2 separate regions of the Homo sapiens genome follow, and region 2 is linked to region 1. Evidence: promoter capture Hi-C in 16 types of primary human blood cells and fetal thymus (Javierre and others, 2016). All regions are on one chromosome and are shown on one strand. Each heading gives the region's core, a stretch centred on a gene start or on the middle of the fragment in contact. The rest is flanking DNA. Distances are from core to core; before and after follow the strand shown.

Evidence for each region. The method cuts DNA at HindIII sites, captures the fragments that hold promoters and counts their contacts. A CHiCAGO score of 5 or more calls a contact.
Region 2: a contact is called between a fragment that was not itself captured here and the fragment with the promoter of BPHL in region 1, in 1 of 17 cell types (neutrophils). The highest score is 5.8, in neutrophils.

The regions. Positions count from the first base shown.
Region 1 is chr6:3,116,034-3,120,583 of GRCh38, reverse strand. BPHL (biphenyl hydrolase like) reads right to left here and starts at 1,873. Exons shown (of 7, transcript NM_004332.4): 1 at 1,737-1,873. The coding sequence starts at 1,843. It overlaps LOC107986556 (a long non-coding RNA gene), which reads left to right and starts at 1,937. Exons shown (of 4, transcript XR_001743928.3): 1 at 1,937-2,795. RefSeq lists a silencer at 1,576-1,965 and an enhancer at 2,004-2,639. The HindIII fragment of the contact is 8,418 bases long and covers 965-4,550 here.
Region 2 is chr6:2,834,926-2,839,898 of GRCh38, reverse strand. It overlaps SERPINB1 (serpin family B member 1), which reads left to right. Exons shown (of 7, transcript NM_030666.4): 3 at 1,213-1,350; 4 at 1,900-2,017; 5 at 3,649-3,791; 6 at 3,876-4,043. Among named protein-coding and RNA genes, the nearest start is that of SERPINB1, 4.5 kb to the left of the region's middle. The HindIII fragment of the contact is 5,549 bases long and covers 777-4,973 here.

The DNA of each region.
Region 1 (4,550 bases), core at 624-3,123:
AAAGTTTTTACACGAATCCTTTTACCTACTGACACTGAGCTACAGCTGCATTTCAGGATTAACTAATACCACTGCTTGTTTTCCCAGATTATATGTCATATCAACTTGCAGCTGCATTTATAAAACGGCCGTACAAAATCCAGAAAAACCTGTTTCTTCAGAGATATTTTAGGAAGAATGATCTGCAATGCAACTAGATGGATGGGGCCTTCCTCAACCATTAAATAACCTATCAGAACTATACTGGTAGGCCGAGAGCGGTGGCTCACGCCTGTAATCCCAGCACTTTGGGAGGCTGAGGCAGGTGGATCATTTGAGGTCAAGAGTTCGAGATCAGCTTGGCCAACATGGTGAAACCCCATCTCTACTAAAAACACAAAAATTAGCCGGGCATGGTGGCAGGTACCTGTAATCCCAGCTACTCGGGAGGCTGAGGCCACGAGAATCGCTTAAACCTGGGAGGCAGAGGTTGCAGTGAGCGAGATCACAACACTGCACTCCAGCATGGGCAAAAGAGCGAGAGTCAGTCTCAAAAAAAAAAAGAACTATATTGGTACAATCACAGTAACTTATTTCGATGCCTTTCTGCAGACAGGAAACTGGAAAAAATAATCATTTTCACTGTTAATTTATACAGCTGTAGCCATTAACATGTTTTTCCATCTATCAAAATAGCCCTGACCATCTTATAATAATTCTAAAATTAAAGGAGCTAGTCAATTGCAATATGAAATTTTAAAAGCTGGTCAGATTTGCCCTCTTTTCTCCTTCTAAATCAAGTTTTCAAACTAAAAGTTTCTATGTTGGATCAAGTACAGTTCTAAACGCTGTGTACCTATCTAGTACTGACTTTATGAAAGTAGCCCATCAACAGTCAACTGCGCACATGCACTGTGTACGTTCGTTGTATACGTGTGTTTGCATGTGTGTAGGGATGTATGTAGAGAATAAAGTAAAACAAGCTTCATGCCGCTCTATCCACATTTCTGCCCAGTATCTCTTGGGACCAAGAGTATCCATTTTCAAGACAGAAGGTCAGAAATTAATCCAGTTTTTTTGTTATTGTTTTACCTGAAATGGGGGGACAGGTGGGAGGACAAAAGAGAATAAAGCAGATTCCTGGGCATCTCCACACATGTAGATCAGATCCTCTGGGAGTGAGGCCCAGGATTCTGAATTTTCAGTTCCCAACGTGATTCTTTTGCACATTAAGGTACGAGATCAGCAAGCAAAGAGAAGACTTAGGGCTCTCGGGACCCGTGATTAAAGCCTTAGCGGTACTCAGGCTCAGGCTGATTTCTGACATAAGAGAAAGAAGAGATTATTGTCCTTATGCCCTTAGTGTGGACTCTGGACAGAGCAATGGACTAATGAGGGCGTTGGGATTCTAGTCCGTGCTCCGTCACGGGTGAGTCCATACTACAGGCAAATGTATCTCCCTGGGTCTCTCTGGTCTGCACACTGAAGGGGCTGCACTCTATAGCCCAAGCCTCCACGGCTCCAGACTCCTTGAACTGAGGCTGACCGAGGCGCATGCACGATCGAGGGGCTCGAGCACCAAGCGCGGCTGGCCCCCAGGATCGGGGTCTCGCGGCACAAAGGGCGACAGGGCAGCCAGGCCGCGCCCACGCCCCGTGCCCGCGCGCCGGGAACTCCTGCTGTCGGCACGCGCCCCTCCCGCCGCCCCTCGAGCGCGCCGATGCTGGGGATCCCCGGGGCGAGGTGGCCGCCATTACCCGAACGCGGCCGCGGGTCCGGCCCGTGGGACGTGGATCCCGGGCTTCAGCGCTGAGAGAAGCAGCCGCAGGCGCAACACGCCCCGGCCGCCCAGCACAGCCACCATGGTCACAGGTCGCGTAGCTGCCGGGAGTGCGCATGCGCTAAGACCAAGCGCGGTACCCGGCCCACTCTGCCCCGAAGCCACGCCCTCTGCTCCGCCCACCTCGCCTCTCCATCCTGCTCCGCCCTCTGCCCGCCCCGCCCCGAAGCCACGCCCTGCCGGGTGCTTTCCCATGGGCGACCGAAACTCGGCTCGTGGTTTCGCAGTCCTGGAACCGCCGGCACCCGCGTAGACCGTCCCCTCTCGGTGCTGGCTCTGGCTCCCGGGATGAGTGTCCCCGTCGGCGCTGCCCCGCCCTCGCTCGTCGCCTCAGCGACCATGGCCTTTCCAGGAGGCGAGGCCGCCAGCCATAGCGCCCTCGCTGCGTCGGCGTCCAGGCGGGACTCCGGAGTGGGCGGGGCTCCGGCTCTAGGCAGGCTGCTATGTTGGATCAAGTAAAGTTCTAAACGCTGTGCACCTATTTAGTACTGACTAGTACTAGGAAGTGTATTTGCTTTTCGGAGATGATGGGATCTAAATTTTGTTTATACCACTTCACGCCCATTAGGATGGCTACTAGCAAAACCCCCAGAAATTAGTGTTGGTGAAGATGTAGAGAAATTGAAGCCCTTGTATATTGCTGTTGGGAATGTAAAATGGTGCAGCCATGTGATGAACAATACTGCGGTTCCTCAACAAATCAGTTATATGATCCAGCATTTTCTTTTCTGGGTATATAACCCAAAAGAATTTAAAACAGGGTGTACAAGAAGAAATGTTTTTACACTCACGTTGACAGCGGCACTATTCACAATAGCCAAAAGGGTGGAGGCAATTTAAGTGTCCAAAAACAGATACATGGATAAGCAAAATGTTGTCTGTGCATGCAAGGGAACATTTTTTAGCCTGAACAAAGAACGAAATTCTGACACTTGCTACTACATGGATGAACCTGGAGGACACTATGCTGAGGGAGGTAAGCCAGTCAAAAAAAGACAAATACTGTGTGATTCCACTTATATAATAAGGTACCTAGAGGAGTCAAACTTATAGGGACAGAAAATAGAATGGGGGTTGTTGAGGGCTGGTGGAAGGGGGAATGGAAAGTTGGTGTTTCATGGGGACAGAGTTTCAGTTTGGAGAGATGAAAAAGTCCTGGGGATGGATTTTGGTGATGCCTGCATTACATTGTGAGTGTACTTACTGCCACTGAACTACACACCTAAAAGTGGTTTAAGTGGTAAGTTTTATGTATGTTTTACCACAATTAATTTTTTTTCTTTTGGCTGTATAATTGCAGCTTTATAAAGGTTATAGACATTATCTAATTGAAAGCTCAGTGGAGAAAAAAAACAACTATTGCTTTTTAAGTCAATCGTTCTGCCTTAATTGGAAATAACTGGCAGATTTGTGGCTACTGTTGTAGCCTTGGCTTGAATAATTGGAGACAACAGCTTCTTTGCATATTGCATTTCTTCTCCTCCAAGAGACCTTTTTGGTGTAACAGTCAGTCCTGTGAGCACAGTGCTTGTAGGTGTTACACTCATAGAAATTTCTGTCACCTGCAGTGTCCTCACTGGCCCATTGGACTTTCTTGAGTAGTAAAGGCAGTTTTGGCCTAAATACAGACTATGCAAAAGTTTTCATATTCTACTCTCAACATAAATCTATCACATTAATTCCTGCATAAAAGGAAAGAGACATATATAATGTTTGAGTTTAATATCGTTTGACTTTCAGAAATCTTTGGTGAGGTCAGTATTTCCTTTTTTCCTGATATGTTGATTGGGGTTTCATCTCAGAAATGATAAAAATAGCTGTCTGTACAGTTTCAACACCAGTTACCCTTGTGCTAATAAAAAACGGTAGCACTGAGTTTTAGGTTATTGGTGTCACAATTTTTTTTTTTTGAGACGGAGTTTTGGTCTTGTTGCCCAGGCTGGAGTGCAATGGCGCAATCTCAGCTCACTGTAACCTCTGCCTCGCAGGTTCAAGCAATTCTCCTGCCTCAGCCTCCTGAGTAGCTGAGATTACAAGCACCCGCCACCATGCCCGGCTAATTTTTGTAATTTTAGTAGAGACGAGGTTTTGCCATGTTGGCCAGGCTGGTCTCAAACTCCTGACCTCAGGTGATCCACCCGCCTCAGCCTCCTAAAGTGCTAGGATTACAGGTGTGTGCCACCGCGTCCAGCGTGGTGTCACTATTTTTAAGTAACATACCTGACAACCAGTTCTTTATATATAGCAAGATCGTACAGTTTAAAAAAACTGCCATTTTTGTGCCAGGCACCTTATGATATATCATATTTCTTTAATCTTCACATTAGCCTTCTGTGCTATTGCACTCTCCATTTATAGATGAGGCAACTGAGGCTAAGAAAGGTTAGGAAGCAAGCCCTAGGTAACACAGCTGAAAAGTAATTTTGAGCTGCTCAATTTCAGGACTCTATACTTGCATAATGACGGCGAAAGGTTAGGAAGCAAGGCCTGGGTAACACAGCTGAGAAGGGGCAGGGGGGAGTTTTGAGCTCTCAATTTCAGGACTCTATACTTGATGATGATGATGATGATTGCTATTATTATTGAGGCACGGTGTGATCACAGCTCCCCACAGCCTCAAACTCCTGGGCTCAAGTGATCCTCCCACCTTAGCCTGCCAAGAAGCTAGGACTACAGGCATACACCACCACACCTGGCTAATATTTTTTAATGTTTTTGTGGAGATAGGGTC
Region 2 (4,973 bases), core at 2,302-4,801, 280 kb after region 1:
CTGCGCATGGCTCAGTGGGCTGTGGCATAGCACGCCCTGCAGGGGAGGTGAGGGGGAGACCCGCAGCTTCAGGGGCGGGACCCAGCCCTTGGCGATGTGACAGGTCACTCTCATGCCCAGCCTTCCTTCTTGTCCATAATGGACATGGAGAGGACTTCTGTGCTTGGTACTCTTTAATTCTGAGAAGAGAACTCTAGCTCTCTCTCTCTAAGCTCAGCAGAAAGGAGTGGTAAAAGTGGAGGCTCTTCTAACATACCTGCCGCAAATTACACTGCACCTGTTCCTTGGCAAGGTGCAGCCTGGGATTCAAGTTCAAGGGGCTGCGAAACTTCTATTACTCATCACTTTAGATATGAAAGCATTTTAAATGTTTTTTTTAAATCCATTAAAAAAAAAAAACCTCTGTTACTAATTGTTAGTTGCTTCTTGCAGGGTTATATCAGTTCCTAGCTTGAGGTTTTCCAGGGACTTTAAAACCTCAGCAAAGAATAGTTTTAAGGACTCCTCCCCCATTTCCATTAAAGCAGATGGAGCATAGGCACAGTGCAAACATTCCATATCTCGGTGAGTAATGTGGACTTCGTACCCTATGCAATTTTGTTCTTTGTGTCTTAATCATAAAGGAACCAGCCTAGGTCTCATAAAACCACAAAGGGCCTCTTGATTTGTAACTGATACATGGGGAATTAAACTTTTGCCAGAATGTTAAGTTTAAGGAAGTTATTTTAAAATAAGTGAGTTACTGATGTTAATAGGGTAATAAAATTTTAAAAGCTTCAGTCTGTACTATCTTTGTGGTTCTGAATAGAGGATGAATCCTATTTTTACTGCTTATTTCTGAGAACTTTCAGTAAAATTATATTTGATACAGAATATAAATATGAACATACCATTTATTATTTTCTTTGGAAAAGGCAGACTTATATATAAATATTTAGTATCTTAACCACCCACATTTGTGGAACTGCAAGTGTAACAAAGAGTGATGTAAAAGCAATGTGTAAAGTTGTAAACATTCTGTCTCACGAAGCCATAAATTTTGGATTTCCTATTGTTTGTTCTGCAATGACAAATTAATAAAGTATTGGGTTTGGGATCATCAATAATTAGTAATAAAAACACATTAATTTAATGTGATAGAAGGAAACACCAAGGAATCACTTTATAGTTTCAAAATAAATGGTTGTAGAAAGAAGATTTTCTTTATTTTAGACTTTCCATTTCAACACGGTTGAAGAGGTTCATTCAAGATTCCAGAGTCTGAATGCTGATATCAACAAACGTGGAGCGTCTTATATTCTGAAACTTGCTAATAGATTATATGGAGAGAAAACTTACAATTTCCTTCCTGTAAGTACTTTGCCCTTCACATTCTAAAACCCCACTAGACAGTGCAGATATTTTCCAGCACAATCAAGTCATGGAGGTCAGTTTTAATATTTGTAAACTTTCAGAAAAACAATACAGAAGGCAAACATGGCAAAAACAATATGGAAGGCAAACACGACAGAATGCAAACTTTAATTGACATGGTGATTTTGTGTTACAGTCTTTTTAGTGAAAAGATAGCTCTTGGAGGTTTTACTGAAGCAAGAGTACAATCAGTGTTTGTGAAATCTTAGTCAAAGTTCAGAAAAGAGTGGTAATTTCTATATAACAACAACAGTATAAGGGTTAGGCTTACCACTACTGGAATGCACAGTTAAAAGTGGCTAAGATCGTAAATTTAATGTTAAATGATTTTTACTACTATAAGAAAAACTATAAGAGTTAGAAATTTTGTGTTACATGGAATTGTAGCCTTTTAGGACAATTTCTGTTGCTTTTTGGGATTTTAGAAAACAATTTCTATATGTAGTAGGAGTTATATATATATTTCCTTTTCCTTTTTTTTAATAGGAGTTCTTGGTTTCGACTCAGAAAACATATGGTGCTGACCTGGCCAGTGTGGATTTTCAGCATGCCTCTGAAGATGCAAGGAAGACCATAAACCAGTGGGTCAAAGGACAGACAGAAGGTGAGAGCCTGGGCAGAATGGAATCATTATGCGCTGGTCATGTCATTCGTTTCCTCAGTCCGCCTTCCCTACCTGCAGTTATTCCCTCCCCAGCTCCCACAGTCCTGGCGCACATCGTGGTTACAGTCAGAGGACGCTGCCGGTGCGTGAAGTCTGCACTGCACGTTGCTGGACAGCTCTCACATGTTCGAAGTTCACCAGAGTGGAAACTTAAACATGATTTAACTCAAGCAGCTAAATCCTTTTTTCTCATCAGCTCCCCAAAACTTTTAAAGTTGCATTTCAAAGTTAAAACCAACATTGGCAGGCGCGGTGGCTCATGCCTGTAATCCCAGCACTTTGGGAGCCCAAGGCGGGCGGATCATTTGAGGTCAGGAGTTCAAGACCAGCTTGGCCAACATGATGAAACCCTGTCTCTACTAAAAATACAAAAAATTTAGCCAGGTGTGGTAGCACACACCTGTAATCCCAGCTACTCTGGAGGCTGAGGCAGGAGAATCTCTCGAACACAGGAGGTAAAGGTTACAGTGAGCCGAGATCATGCCACTGTACTCCAGCCTAGGCAACAGAGCGAGACTCCGTCGTAAAAAAAATAATAAAAATAATAAAAAATAAAAAATAAAGTTAAAACCAACACTGAATACAGCAAAAAAGGAATTAAAATTTTGAGGAGAATTCAGCCTGCCAAAAATTACCTAATACTCATATGGAAAGAAATGTCCTGGAATTTCATGGAAATACCTGAAATCAATATTCACAAACTACTGTGGTTGTAAATTTTTTGCCAACATCTTGTCCAGTAAAAAAGTTGTGGTAGGTGGGGACTGACTTGCTTTTAGGGTGCAATTTATTTCTTTGCTACATCTCTCTTCTTACATAGCCCTGTATTAGTCAACCCACTCCAGAAGACCTGTCTTCCATTATGGGAATTGTTCCCAGCCATACTTATGGTCACGAAGGTGACCTTTATTTCCATGGAGTATGTTCTGCTGGTTTTTTTGTTTGTTTGTTTGTTTTTTGTTTTTAAGAGACAGAGTCTTGCTCTGTCGCCCAGGCTTGAGTGCAGTGGTGCGATCGTGGCTCACTGCAGCCTTGACCTCCTGGGCTCAAGGAATCTTCTCATCTCCACCTCCCAAAGCACTGGGACTGCAGGTGTGCGCCACCATGCTTGGTCTTGTTCTGCCTTTTGGATATTGTTTAAACCTTTTTTTGTGAGAGTAGGCATCTACTCAGCGATTTGAAGAAGTGATTTACTGATGACTAAAGATATCTTCATTAAGAATTTTTTTTTTCTAAAAAAGAATGGTTGTTACAAAATAAGGCTCATTGTTTATCATACAGTCCAGAAAAGGAGAATTTTCCTGTCTTTTGTCTTTCGGCACATTTGACTTGTTTAAAATGTCAGGTCCTTGTGGGAAGTTTGTGTGTCATCCTGGTCTGTCTGCCCCACAGGTTGTTATACTTAAAGTAGAGACATGTTAGTGAGTAGGGCTTTCCTAAGTTAATATCTTGTTAAATGAAAATTAAGTAGAAATTATATATTTGAATTGCATTTCCGTGCTAATATATTGTCAGTTCAAATTTGGAATTCCGATTTGGATTTTTTTTACGCTAACTTGATTTTTTTTTAGGAAAAATTCCGGAACTGTTGGCTTCGGGCATGGTTGATAACATGACCAAACTTGTGCTAGTAAATGCCATCTATTTCAAGGGAAACTGGAAGGATAAATTCATGAAAGAAGCCACGACGAATGCACCATTCAGATTGAATAAGGTGAGGTGAGGTAACTGTACAGAGTCATGCATTGCTCTAAAAGAATGCAGAGAATAATTTCAGTGATTTTTTAAAACTGTTCAGAAAGACAGAAAAACTGTGAAAATGATGTATCAGAAGAAAAAATTTGCATATGGCTACATCGAGGACCTTAAGTGCCGTGTGCTGGAACTGCCTTACCAAGGCGAGGAGCTCAGCATGGTCATCCTGCTGCCGGATGACATTGAGGACGAGTCCACGGGCCTGAAGAAGGTATGGCTCCTGGGCTTCATGCTTTGTGGTTCCTCTTGCATGTGTGTGTCGCATGGTAGGTAGGTGCTTGTTAAGTGTTCACTGATGGTGCATTTTCCAGTAGTTTGTCATTCCTTTGTAAATGTAGCCCATCAACACTTACTACACTAAAGCCCAGAGTTAATTTTTTTTTAAATTTACTTATAGAGACAAGGTCTCACTATGTTGTTTAGGCTGGTCTTGACCTCCTGGCTTCCAGCAATCCTCCTGCCTCAGCCTTCTGAGTAGCTGGGACTATAGCTGTGAGCCACTGTGCCCGGCTAACGTTTCATTTTTCAAGAAAGATGGCCAGCTACTTTCAGTGGACACTTGTGATGGGGTCATTAAAGATCTATACTAAATATAATACTGGTTAGTGGCAGCTCATGGAAAGGCTCTTGAATTAGCTTTAGAGGAAATTACAGTAAGATGAGGATTGTTTTACTGAGGAAAAAGATTGAAAAGCCCCAAATAGTGTAGCATATATCTTCATCACGTACTATAAAATTCTATTATTACACTGTTTGTTCTCATCACAATTCATATAGATAGTGAATTAAATTTTCAATGGGTACAAGACAGAAAAAGCCTCATGTGACATGTTAGGCCTATTTACTAGTATGATCTTTGCATGAGGTTTCCATTATATGTAGGGACTCTAGCCTGCTCTGTGCTCTCCGTCTCCTCCCTATCCACCTATTCATCATCCTTGCTATCAGGAAGGGGGTCTAATGTTAATCATTTGCATGTACAGACTTTTAATACATTGTATAACAATCAATGTGGCCTTTCTTTTGGTTGTATTTTTGCATTAGTTTTTTTTCTGATTGTAAAGTGAAAATCTCTAGCCTCTTAAAAGGAATTATCAGCACCATTAGAAGAAGTAGAGTGATGGTTCTATTCCAGTCCAAT